Linked DNA regions of Homo sapiens: regions 1, 2 and 3 are each linked to region 4. The links are contacts of gene promoters, found by promoter capture Hi-C in human tissues and cell types (Jung and others, 2019). All regions are on one chromosome and are shown on one strand. The core of a region is centred on a gene start or on the middle of the fragment in contact, and the rest is flanking DNA. Distances in the headings are between cores, read along the strand shown.

Region 1 (3,108 bases), core at 332-2,831, 440 kb before region 4:
GGCCCGGGCATCCTCGAGGAATGAAGCAGCCATTCCCACCACCTCTCAGGGACTAACAGGTGCATGTGGACACTTGAACCACGACTGTGTCCACAGCTCCTCCTGGACCAGGCCTGGTGCCTGAGTGTGAAGACTCCTGGCCTGCGTGGCAGGGGCAGCTATCTGGGAGGGCTAAACAGCCTGGAGGCTGAGTCTGCAGAGGAAGGGGGACCTGAAAGAGCCCAGGTACAGGTGCCCATCGTGTTCGTGCACCTCGCTGATGTAGGTGGCCACCAGCCCATCGGGATCATGCAGGCTTCTCCGGAAGGCACCGCTGTCGCTGAGTTCTAGGACGAGGCTGTACCGCGGCACAAACTTCATCACCGTCTCTTGACTAAAGAGCTAGAGGGAAGCACAGTGCAGGGAAAGTTCACCAGCTGGCCAAGAACACTGTGCGCAGATCAACCGTGCCGCCCCCACCATCCAGGAACGGTCTGACTCCTTCCCATGACAGGGCAGCCCCACAGGGCAGTGCCCCACAGGACAGCTAATCCAGCTCCCACTCCCAGCCCAGGGGCCCCAAAGCAGGCCCCACCCCACCCCTGTCCCTGTGAAGATCAGGCCAAAGAGGCTCCCCAGCACAAGGACAGCAACGCAAGCACATCTCTGGATGGCCTGGCTGAACTGAGAGAGACATATCACATCCGACGTGGTCACAGCACTGCAGCCAAGGCTCAGAATGACCTCCACTCACCAGATCACAACCAGCGCAGCTTCCCTGGAATACACAAGTCTTCTGTTTAGATTTAAAACATTTCAAATAGGCAAGGTGCAAATGATGGAGATTTGAGAGCAGCTCACATTCAAAAAAAGCAAGCAGGTCCACAGACCACACAACATGGCTTCCAAAACAAAAAGCAAAATCCCACTGCTTTCCTCAAAGCGGGGCGTGCAGATCCTGAGGGACGCCTACAGGGACGGAGGCAAAAGAGCTTAGACCTGGACTCTGTGGTCACACGGGACTGTTGAAGAGTATTAAGCAGAGAACAGATGGCGAGAGGCGTGATTTCTGGCAGAGCAGAAGGACACCTGGTCGGAAATTATGACAAAGCACTCCACTGCCTAAGACCAAGGAATGGAAATTAACAGACAGATTTCTAGCTTTTAATACAAGGGAAAATACCCAAACAAGTGTCCAACGAATAATGTCTCCCAGTCACTGGAAATGTTCAAGCAGACAGACAAGCTGACTAGACTCTAGGTTCAACAGCGATAGATCAACTGCATTACAGCTCAAAAAATTCCCAAGGCTTCCCACTACCTAGGAAATGCCATCTCCTGCTGTTCGGCCGTGGATCCTTCCCACTCTCCTCTCTTCTCTCTTCCCCCTAAGAGATCTCATCCTCTCTCACTATTACAACTAGTCACTTTCCCAGAAAGCTCTCAAATCGCCATCTCCAACACCAGTGCTAAGTTTCTCACTGTCTGGGACCCATGTCTGCCTGGCCTTTCTAATAGCACTTCAAATTCAACAGCCTCCCCAGCTCTGGAGACAGGGCCAGGACCCCAGCCTTCCCTTGATCCCAGTCTCTCTGTGCCCTACAAGCCCAGCTGCCAGTCTTGCCATCTGTTGTGTGTGTCCCTGGCCTGGGCCCTGCCCTGCCGCCTCTCCCCAGTCACTGAGACAGCTTCCACACAGGCTCCCACAGCCAGCTGAGCCCTGCTGCAAGCTGTTCTCCTTGCAGTAGCTGCAGTTCTCTTTAAAAACATTCTTTGTACTACATCACTCCCCTCCTAAACAACTCCATCAGGAGCATGGGGCTGAGCAGGGTACATGTGTGCAGGGGATGGCAGACCATGGTGACCCAGACAAGCCCACTCCGCTTGGGTGAGGAGGTGTCCCTGCAGGGGAGTGGCCTGGCACGGGCTGTCAGGGCCCACACGGGGTGAGGAGGTGTCCCCACAGTGAGGCCCAGATCAGGCTGTGAGAGCCCATGCAAGTGAGGAGGTGTACACCCAGGGACAGCCCGGTGCAGGGATCACAGCCCTTGAGGCGAAAGGCAGCCTCCAGCACATGGTCAGGGAGGAAGGGGACAGCCCAGCATGGGGTGCTACAGCCCTGGATGGGGCCATGTGACAGGGCACAGCAACCACAGATTGGTCACATGCACAGAAAATGGTTGAACAGGTAAACCTAGGGAGGACAATGGGATCCAGGTTTCTCACTGTTGGAGAGGTACAAATAGGGGGAAAAATAAGGGGAGAAAACTTGGATCAGTCCTGTGGTGTTGTCATGGTTTTCAATTTACAGATGACAGATGCAGGCATAAGCGTGAGTGGTGTGTGTGTGTGATGTCTACGCGTGCAGGTATATGTGAGTATGCATCGTGTGCTTGTACTCCCAGCGTTGTCCCTTAGGGACCTGGGAGCAGCGACACCCAAAGCAGCGAGTACACTCAGCACCCAGATCTCCTCCACAAGGAACCAGGGCTCCTGGGAGAAATGGCCGATTGCAGAGCTGAAGCAGGGACAATACAAGAGGAAACTGGAACGACTTATGTGCTGGAAAGTGAGGAGCTAGCCCAAGACAAGAGGACATGCCCAAAGGCCCAGAAGCCACACTGAAGGGGCTCCTCCTGGCCACAGATGGGTAATTTGAGCATCAAAATCAATGATGACTGTAACATAATCACCATTAAGAACATGGGAAACCATAAGATGGCACTGGTGATTACTTACAAAAACCACCTCTCTGCGAGCAACTCAGTAATTAGACATGAAAGAACCACGTCCAGGTGGAGACACCTGGCATTCCCTGCCTGAATCAGGTGGCCAAAGTTGCCACCACCCCAACAGAGCAAACTGGTATCGCGCCCTCATGACAGCCGCGCCAAGATGAGCACAGCTTCACTGCTGCGCCACTGCTGCCAACGATGCGAGAGCAGAATCTAAATATGAAAAACAAACCCTACTGGAGGGACATTCTGGGACACAGCTGACCTGTACGCTTTCAAAGGATCAAGGCCAAAAATTCAAAAAAAGACAGGAGCTGAATATCCCCCAGACTGAAGGAGATTAAACAGCTGACAACTAAACACCACTCCTGATCCTGGGTTGAATCATTTGTTA
Region 2 (3,042 bases), core at 128-2,627, 390 kb before region 4:
CCACATCCCAGCCTTACCAGCATAGCCTTTCCATGGCAACTGAAAATGCTGTTTGTAAAGCACTGAAACAAATTCTCAATCTTGCAATGCGTCAATTTAAAGAGAGCATTTAAGTAAATAATGGAATAACGGCACATAGAAGTGCAGGGAGGAAGGTGACATCTGGGACACACTGTGACACAGGGTGGCCTCCCAGCGGGAGGGCAAGCCTGACCCCAAGCCACTGGGCAGGGCAGGAGAAGCCAGTCTGCCCAGCAGTGCCCTGGCATGGGGTCAGTGTGTGTCCAGGTCACGCCAGGCCAGGCAGTGTGCCTGGATGGACCTGGCATTGCAACACCTAGGTGCTCCCGCCCCTTCCCAGACCCAGCCACCAAGAAGCTGGCAGACTCGAAACAAAGCGTGGCCTTGGTAAAGGCCATTCTAGTCCCTCATTCTGCATTCCCCCAGCATGTCGCTGTGCAGTGGGAACCACAGGTCAGATTCGTCCAAAGAGTCCCAGCGCAGCACACAGCCTGCACACTCCAGAGCACACTCTGGCACACACGCGTGGCGGCTGCAGAGCTGGCTTGAGTGCTATGACCAAGCCCGTGAGGATACATGAGGCTGGACATTTTCTCATAAACTCTCTGTAATGGGGCTGGACGGTGTCCCCACCAGATACACCATGGACAGAAGGGGAAACCCCCCAAGCTTAGCCAAGCCCAACTGGGTCATGGCCACTGTGGATGTGTGTCCTGAAAGGACAGCAGAACCAGGGCATTTCAGAAACCCGACCGAACACGAGTGCTATTCAGCCTCCTCCCCTACAGTTTCCACTTGAGAGAGAAGAACACTGAGAGCTTGGCCCACAGTATCCCCTATCACTCCACTCTCCAGAGTCTGCTCCTCGTACAGAGGTGCCCATAATGGGTGTGGGGTCAGGAATCAGGGAGGAGCTCATCTCCAGGACACTCACCTTCTCCTTTGATGTCGTGGGGGTAGCCAATGACAGCACTTTCTGGTACTGCAGGGTGGTCGGCCTGTGTACAACAGAGAACAAAAGGGCAAAATGTGGCGGCCCCGGGTGCTAGAAGTGACTCGGGCCAGGGACTCCCACCCCAACTTGCAGGTCCACAGGGGCATCATGGAGGTGTAGGAGTGAAGGAGGAGGCCCAGCCTGTGCTCACGATGGCGTCCTCAATCTCTGCGGTCCCCAGCCGGTGGCCACTGATGTTGATGACATCATCCATCCGCCCTGTGATCTGGTAATAGCCGCCCTCAGTTCGGTAAGCCCCGTCTCCAGTGAAGTAATAGCCTGCACCACAGCAGGGAAATTCAGCACCAGGAACCCTGAGCCAGGACCCATGTCCCAACCTCAGTAAGCGTGAAGCTCTGCAGCCCAGCACGCGGCTGAAGTCTCGCCCATCGGCCCTCCTTGCAACTCCGATGCTTCCCTATGTTCTAGAGCATGGGCAGGTGGCTCCGAGATATCGAGACTTTGGGGAGCAGAAGGTATACAAGCAGCACATCCAAGATGCTTCTCCAAAACACTGAGTCTTGTTTACGACAAAAAGGGAAACTGGGAAAAAATAAAAGTAAACTGGAAGAAAACTCCCAGCCGTAGCTAACAGGATCCTACCATGGGCCTGGCTGCAGTGCAGGACTTCACACCCACACCTAAGTAGCCCCAAGAAAGTCCCCGAGTGGGGAATCACTCCCACTGTCAAGATAAGGAAAGCCAGGGAGGTACAGCAAAGGGAGAGGGGTGCGGAGTCAAACTCTGGCCTCGCGAGCACCTATTCCTGGCCACAGTGTTACGCTGCACTCAAATCCCATTAAAAATGTTTTCTGAGAATAAGATTCCAGCAGTCAGCTGAAAAGGAATGAGAGGGTCCCTGACAGCCTGCTCACCTGGGTAGGCCTTGAAGTAGGCGTCCACAAATCGCTGGTGGTCGCCATAGATGGTCCTGGCCATGCCCGGCCAGGCCTGGGAGATGCACAGGGCCCCGGAGACGTTGCTGCCCTCCACGACGCTGCCCTGTAGACCCCGGACATGCAAGTGAGACAGGGCAGGCTCTGGGTGAGAAGTGTGCCAAAAAATGACAAGCCCTGCCCTCAAGGGAGCTGTCCATAGCTCTCCCCTCTGCCCCTGAGGAGGGCCCCAAGCCACCTGTGTGGCCACTACCCAGTGCATGATACCAGCTGCAGTGAACGCTGCAAGGTCAGCAGCCTCCTGCCAGGTACAGACCTGGGCACACAGGAGAGAGCTGGGCTGGGCAGGCAGGGACAAGGGAGGGCAAGCACATGACCCCCATGTGGGGGAGGCCCATACACACCTTCTCATCCATGAGGACGGGGACGATGCCAAAGAAGGGCCTCATCGCCATGGCAGGGAGGATTTCCGCCCCTTCTTCCGAGGGCCGTGGTGCGATGCAGATGCCACCTGTTTCTGCAGGTATGACAAGAAAGAAATGCATAATCGGCCCCGGACCCAGGGATACGTGTATCCAGAGTGGGTGGTAGGTGGGACTGTCCCTGTTGTGGGCAAGGAAACGCCTCAGGGGCACAACGATCTTTGAGGCAAACCAGATGTGGGTCTGGTGCCCTCCACTGTGGATATGAGAGGCGGCCCCACAGTGGCCTCAGCCCCAGGAGCTCTGGCATCCCACAGCCAGGTGCAGGCCCCCTCGCCATGTCAGGCCCTTGCTTGAAGTGGGAAAGGGCAGAGCCCACCCACTTGCACATGAAGACGGAGAAAAAGAACTGCTTCTGGGCCAGCGCCCATTTGACATGAACCCAACAACGAAAAAAGATGCTCTCAAATCCTACCCTCACATTATTTCCAGCCTGTACCAGGGAAATGCCCCAGTGACTCAGCTAGAGAATCTCTGTCCCAGGTTTTCCTGAATGGATGGGACTGTCCCATGGGAACGCCTCATTTTCTGGCTTGAGGATGAGCCCTCAGATAGTTACATTCATTACATCTATGGTGGTCTCTCGCCCCAAGCCTCCTAATAAGTCAGATACCCAAGAGAAGGGGGGACAAATCCAAACAAAATGTCA
Region 3 (3,013 bases), core at 25-2,524, 450 kb after region 4:
TTTGGCCCCCTCCGAGTGAGATAGGATGGGCTCACCACATCTGTTGAGGCAGGCAGGGCATCGCTGCAGCATAGAATGATCCCATGGGTTTCAAGGCGTGGTGTCAGCTGAAAATTCACTGATCCATCAGCCCTCTGCCTCCCTTCTCCTTTGAAAGAGCACTGGCCTGCCCGGCTTCTAAAAGCCATGGGGCTCCGGAAGCCAACCGCAATTTACAGGACACGTGCAAAAAGGAACAAGGGCGAATCCCAGGTGGAGACCATGCGATGACGTGTGGCTGTGGCCCATCCCACAGCAGATGGCGTGGATGTGTGTAACCAGAGGAATGTGGGGCGACGGCGAAACAAACGGTGGTGTCTAAGCATGTGCCCGGTGGAAGGGGGGGACAAGTGACATTTCCATCACAGCAATGAAAACTTAAAGAACACCTGGGAACCAGGAGGGGGCTTGTGACTGACCGGATACAAAATTTGAAATTGCTGCCAGAGGAGCAAAGAGGGTTCTGCAAATTTCACCCCAACGCCAAAGCTCCATCGCCCATGTAGCCCTCACACAACGTCCTGTGCACCAAGCCCCAGCCCCAACACCAGCCCCAGCCCCAGCCCCAGCCCAAGACCGAGCCCAGTCCCCTTGTTTCCCTGACATTCGTTAAGGCCAAAAGATCCAGGGAGACAGTCCACCCATGAGAAGAGGAGAGGATGTCCCTCGAGAATGAGACAGGAAGTGCAGAGGAAATGCGACACCACCTGTGCTAGAAGACAAGGCCAGTCCCGGTCTCCTAGCGCTCATTCTAGGCAATCCACCCACCCATGAATGGAAACATGGAGAAGAAGCAAGCTTTCCTGTCTGAGACACTTATGGGAGCAAAGAGCTCCACGGTCACGAGATCTGCCCAATCAAGCAGAAAGAGGTTTGGAGAGAGAAACAATCATAACAGGGATCTCCAGGAAATGTCTCCCGGACAGACTGGGAAGTCAAGCACTGGGAAGTCCCTAACGGACAGGGAAGACATGTGGCCAGAGCGAGAGGCATCTAGGACAGGGGAGGCAGAGCAAGAGGGAGGACAGAGCAGAAGGAGCAAGAGGGAGAACAGAGCAGAGGGAGGACAGAGCAAGAGGGAGGAGAGAGCAGAGGCCGGAGCCCAGGCCGGATATAGCACCATGCCACCGCCACAGGCATAAGGGGAGGGGTTCCAAAAGGGTGGCTTGTCCAGCGAGGTCACCGTTCCAGTGACAGGGATTGTTGCCATCTCTCATTCCCGGCTTCCTCTTGCAGACTGTATCATGGTGTGGCTTCATTTCTCAGAGAAGAGCCGTGAAAAGATACAAGCATCTTCTCTGACGTGGGTCCGCTGCTCTCCTGCGGGACAAAGAGCTCCTGTGGGGCTCTTGTCCTCGGCTGCAGTGTGATCATTTTGATCTTAGGAGAGAGGCCGCTCAGGATGGGGATGAGATTTCAATTGCTCCCGGACCCATGCATCTCTTCACGTAGGCCAGGACTTCACACACCCAAAGCGGATCCGGGGCGGCGAAAACGATTGACAACCGGCCTCATGACAAAGGCAGAGACGCAGAAAGAGGGTCACCAAAGACAGGCCGCCATGCGAGAAACCGCTTTGTGGCGCACAGGGCACATTCTGCCAAAGACACACACGCACACGGGCACACACACACAACCCACTGAGAGAGGGAAAGAAACACACAGAGACTGAGAGACAGAGAGAGAAGAGAGAATGGGAGAAACACACACAGACACACACACACACACACACACACACACACACACACACACACACAATGTCATTCAGGAGAGGCATTGAAACGCACACACCCAGGCAAACCCTGAGTCTGCGGGGATCGGCTCTCGACGAGAACGACCCTCCTGTGAGAGAGCACCCCAGGGGCAGGCAGGCCGACCTGTCGTCGAGATCACGGACGGCGGCACGACTTTTGGGGAGACTCACCCCAACCCACACCGTCATGGCAGGCCTGAAGCTGGGATGCCGTGCTGCTATCCCCGGACTCCCCCTGGGGTTTCCTCATCCTGGTCGGCCCTTTGAGACTCCTGGCATCCGGAGACGTTCCCGTCGACCCGGTGGAGAGGTCAGGCCAGAGCCTCAGAGCCCCGACACACAAGCACTGCCACGGAGGGCTCCTGCTTTGCCAAGCCTCAGGGAGTGGTTTCTAAGAAAACCGTGGGAACCACTGTGAGGGCAAAAGAAGCTCGCGCCTCGCGCATGCGCATTGTCAGGGCCAACTCGCGCTACGCTCCTCACAGGCAGGCTGCGTCCCCTTTAAATAACGCCGCCGCTGCGCTGGGGCAGCGAGGCTCCTGCTGCATCCGCCGCGGTGGCTGGATCCGGGGTCCAGTTGGGGCGGCGTGAGAGAGAGGGCCGCGGGTGTCTTGTCGTGTCCCAGGGCCAAACCCCGAGGAATCCTGTCCTCAGGACCACCTTGAGCTGACTTCCACCGAGGGAGGGGGACATCAGGACGCCTGCTGTGTTCTCAGGACTCCCCTTCAGATCCGATTTTGGCCCACTCCGAGTGAGATAGGATGGGCTCACCACATCTGGTGAGGCAGGCAGCGCCTCGCTGCAGCACAGAATGATCCCATAAGTCTCAAGACCTAGTGTCAGCTGCAAATTCATTGATCCCTCAGGCCTCTGCCTCCCTCCTCCTTTGAAAGAGCAGGGGCCTGACCCGCTTCTAAAAGACCTGGGGCTACGGAAAGCAGACCGCCCTTTACAGGACACCTGAAAACAGGAACAAGGGCGAATCTGAGGTGGAGACAATGCGACCAAGCGTGGCACTGGCGTATCCCACAGCAGATGGTGAGAATGTGTGTCACCGGAGACATACGGGGCGACGGCGAAACAAATGGTGGTGTCCAGGCATGTGCCGGTGGAAGGGGGGAATGAGTGACCCCTGCATCAATGCCAAGGAAAATCGAAGAACATCTGGGACCCGGGGATGGGGGCGCCAGTACCTGACCCAAGCCACGTTTTCAAATGCCT
Region 4 (2,819 bases), core at 270-2,769:
TTTTTTCAAAGGCGGTTTCAAAAAGGCAATGTTTGCTGGGTGCGGTGGCTCACGCTGTAATTCCAGCACTTTGGGAGGCCCAGGCGGACGGATCCCTTGAGCTCAAGAGTTGTCGACCAGACTGGCCAACATGGTGAAACCCTGTCTCTACTTAAAATACAAAATAGCCAGGTGTGGTGGCCTGAGCCTGTAGTCCCAGCTACTCAGAGGGCTGAGGGGGGAAAATTACCTCAGCCCGGGAAGTGGAGGCTGCAGTGAGCTGAGATGGCGCCACTGCACTCCACCTGGGTAACGGGAGTTAAGACCCTGTCTCCAAAAAAAAAAGGCAATGTCATTATTCAACATAAGCCTGAGTAGGCCATTCCCATGCCCATTCCTTAGATGACATATCTACTGTATATTTGCAAAAGATCAACATAGTTTCTAGGGTTAGCTAGAATTAATCCAAGATTGCGCCGGTTGCGGTGGCTCATGCCTGTAATCCCAGCACTTTGGGAGGCCGAGGTGGGCGGATCACGAGGTCAGGAAATTGAGACCGTCCTGGCTAACACGGTGAAACCCCGTCTATACTTAAAAAATTCAAAAAATTAGCTGGGCGTGGTGGCGGGCGCCTGTAGTCCCAGCTACTCGGGAGGCTGAGGCAGGAGAATGGCGTGAACCCGGGAGGCGGAGCTTACAGTGAGCCGAGTTCGCGCCACTGCACTCCAGCCTGGGCGACAGAGCGAGACTCCATCTCAAAAAAAAAAAAATCCAAGATTGCTTGTTAGAAATTAACATTGCTTTTTGAAAAATTGCCTAATAAAACAATTCTTTAGCAGTGATTCCCATCTTCCATATGCTTAAGAAATATTCCATAACCATCTAGCCAAGAAAATTCCTAGTGAATTCGTATTAATCTAGGGCAGATATTACAAATATTTTTAAAAGACTATTTTAAAATCAAAGGGTGGTACTGTGGTGTTGGAAATGGAAAGCCTAAATAACAGTCTAATCACTCTGGAGCTGTGTGACCTTGGGCAAGTTACCTAACTTCTGTTTCCTTATTAATCCCGGGTCTTAAAACACTTCAGAGATAATTGTGGGAATGAAATACACACTGCAGTCCCTACCAGCACTAGGTACCCAATAAAAGAGAGTTTCATTTTAATATCAAACAGAAAACCCGCACTGCAAAACTGAAACCCTTGCGTCCTACCAATGCACACCAAGTTTTTGGGCCTTTCCTCTTAACCTCAAAGTGCTCTTTTCTTGAACCTAAACGAGAATGAATGAATCAAAAGGAAAATGACAAGGAAGCTGCGGGGCGTGCATTTATTTCCAGCTCTGCTGCCCGTAGAGTCCCCCGGCCCACTGCCTGAGAACTGGAAAAGCCGTCTCTGCTCAGCCGAGGGGTTCTGCCATCTCCGGGGCGGGGACCTCACCTTGGAAAGACCCCTCCCACTCCGCCCCTCTTGGAATGCGGCTGAGCGGTGGATGTCCCTTTTCGGGCGCCGTAGGCGCGTTCCTATTGGCTAGCTTTGTTCGGCGCCAAAGCGCGGAGCGGAGGCCGAGGCGAGAGCCTGGCGCTGTAGGACTAGAACGAAAGGAGTGAGGCGCCGAGAGCCCAGATACCATTTTGGCGTGAGAGCTGGTGGTTGGCAAGGCCGCGGGAGTGGGAAGCGTCCGCCATGTTCTGCGAAAAAGCCATGGAACTGATCCGCGAGCTGCATCGCGCGCCCGAAGGGCAACTGCCTGCCTTCAACGTGAGGGGCGGGTAGACTTGGACGGGGCATGCCGGCGTTGGGCCCTGGGCTCTGGGGCGGGGCGGCTCCCCGTCAGGGTTCACTTTCGCACCTTGTTCCCTCCGAGCTCCGGAAAACTTGGGAAGCAGCAAAACAAAATTCAGGAGGAAAGAGAAAGCATTCATGCTTACGCTACCCAGCGATTTGGTGAATTTCCTCATCTGAGCAAATTTTGCATTTTAGCAGTTTTCCTTGGACAGATTTGTTCCGGTCCCTTAAAATATTTACAGGTTGCCTGATAATTTAGCATTTCTTGCTCACTCAGGCATCTAATCGTGGTCAGTAAAAGCTAGGCCTCTGGAACCTGGCTGAGATTCTGGTTCTGTAGTGTGACTTTGGGGCAGTTACTCAAGCTTTCTGTGCTCTCAGTTTTCTCATACGCAAAAATGGGGATGGTGACAATAATAGTACCCAACGCATGATGTAGTGGACGCAAAATGAGTGGCATGTGTAAGGGTCTCTGCATATGCCTCACATACAGTAAGGGCTGAGTCAGTGTTAGCTATTAATATTACTTTTCTCCTGCTGCTGCTGTTACTATTAATATTATGATTATTTGTATTTTTCTATCACTGCTACCCCAGGGAGAGTGCTAAGCACTTCATGTACATTATCTTTTGTCTTTCTAATAACCCTTTGAGGGCCCGGTACCATGGCTCCTGCCTGTAATCCCAGCACTTTGGGAGGCTGAGGCGGGAGGATCGCTTGATCCTGCCACTGCATTCCAGCCTGAGTGACAGGGAGACCCTGTCCCAAACAAAACAAAAATAACTTTTTGATGTTTAAACTATTGTTTTCTACTTTTTTCAGCTATATATGCATAGGATTGGGGAGATTTAAGTATATTGCCTAAGGTGACACAGCAAGAAAGCTAGGATTTGAACCCTGGCACTCTGGCTCCAGAGCCTGCACTCTAAATTGTATATTTCACTTACGTCATAGAGCAGGCATTATGTGGATGTCAGGACACATTCTGCTGGAAGATGGGCACAAAAACAGATAATAGAATTCACCACGCTAAGTGATACTAAGGAGGTA

Evidence for each region. Contacts are between HindIII fragments. The study calls those that stand out against the background at their distance.
Region 1: a fragment that was not itself captured here is called in contact with the fragment with the promoter of GINS1 in region 4 in 1 of the 25 tissues and cell types used here (lymphoblastoid cells).
Region 2: a contact is called between a fragment that was not itself captured here and the fragment with the promoter of GINS1 in region 4, in 1 of the 25 tissues and cell types used here (IMR-90 fibroblasts).
Region 3: a fragment that was not itself captured here is called in contact with the fragment with the promoter of GINS1 in region 4 in 2 of the 25 tissues and cell types used here (dorsolateral prefrontal cortex and spleen).

Annotation. Positions count from the first base shown.
Region 1 is chr20:24,963,642-24,966,749 of GRCh38, forward strand. APMAP (adipocyte plasma membrane associated protein) reads right to left here. Exons shown (of 9, transcript NM_020531.3): 9 at 1-381. The coding sequence ends at 172. Among named protein-coding and RNA genes, the nearest start is that of CST7, 16 kb to the left of the region's middle. The HindIII fragment of the contact is 7,885 bases long and covers 1-3,108 here.
Region 2 is chr20:25,011,646-25,014,687 of GRCh38, forward strand. It overlaps ACSS1 (acyl-CoA synthetase short chain family member 1), which reads right to left. Exons shown (of 14, transcript NM_032501.4): 9 at 2,316-2,428; 10 at 1,891-2,017; 11 at 1,167-1,294; 12 at 956-1,019. Among named protein-coding and RNA genes, the nearest start is that of APMAP, 20 kb to the left of the region's middle. The HindIII fragment of the contact is 3,542 bases long and covers 1-3,042 here.
Region 3 is chr20:25,856,132-25,859,144 of GRCh38, forward strand. No RefSeq gene overlaps it. Among named protein-coding and RNA genes, the nearest start is that of FAM182B, 62 kb to the left of the region's middle. The HindIII fragment of the contact is 6,623 bases long and covers 1-3,013 here.
Region 4 is chr20:25,406,154-25,408,972 of GRCh38, forward strand. GINS1 (GINS complex subunit 1) reads left to right here and starts at 1,520. Exons shown (of 7, transcript NM_021067.5): 1 at 1,520-1,742. The coding sequence starts at 1,668. It overlaps LOC105372581 (a long non-coding RNA gene), which reads right to left and starts at 2,142. Exons shown (of 3, transcript XR_937403.3): 1 at 1,918-2,142. RefSeq lists enhancers at 1,562-1,811, 1,909-2,666. The HindIII fragment of the contact is 13,310 bases long and covers 1-2,819 here.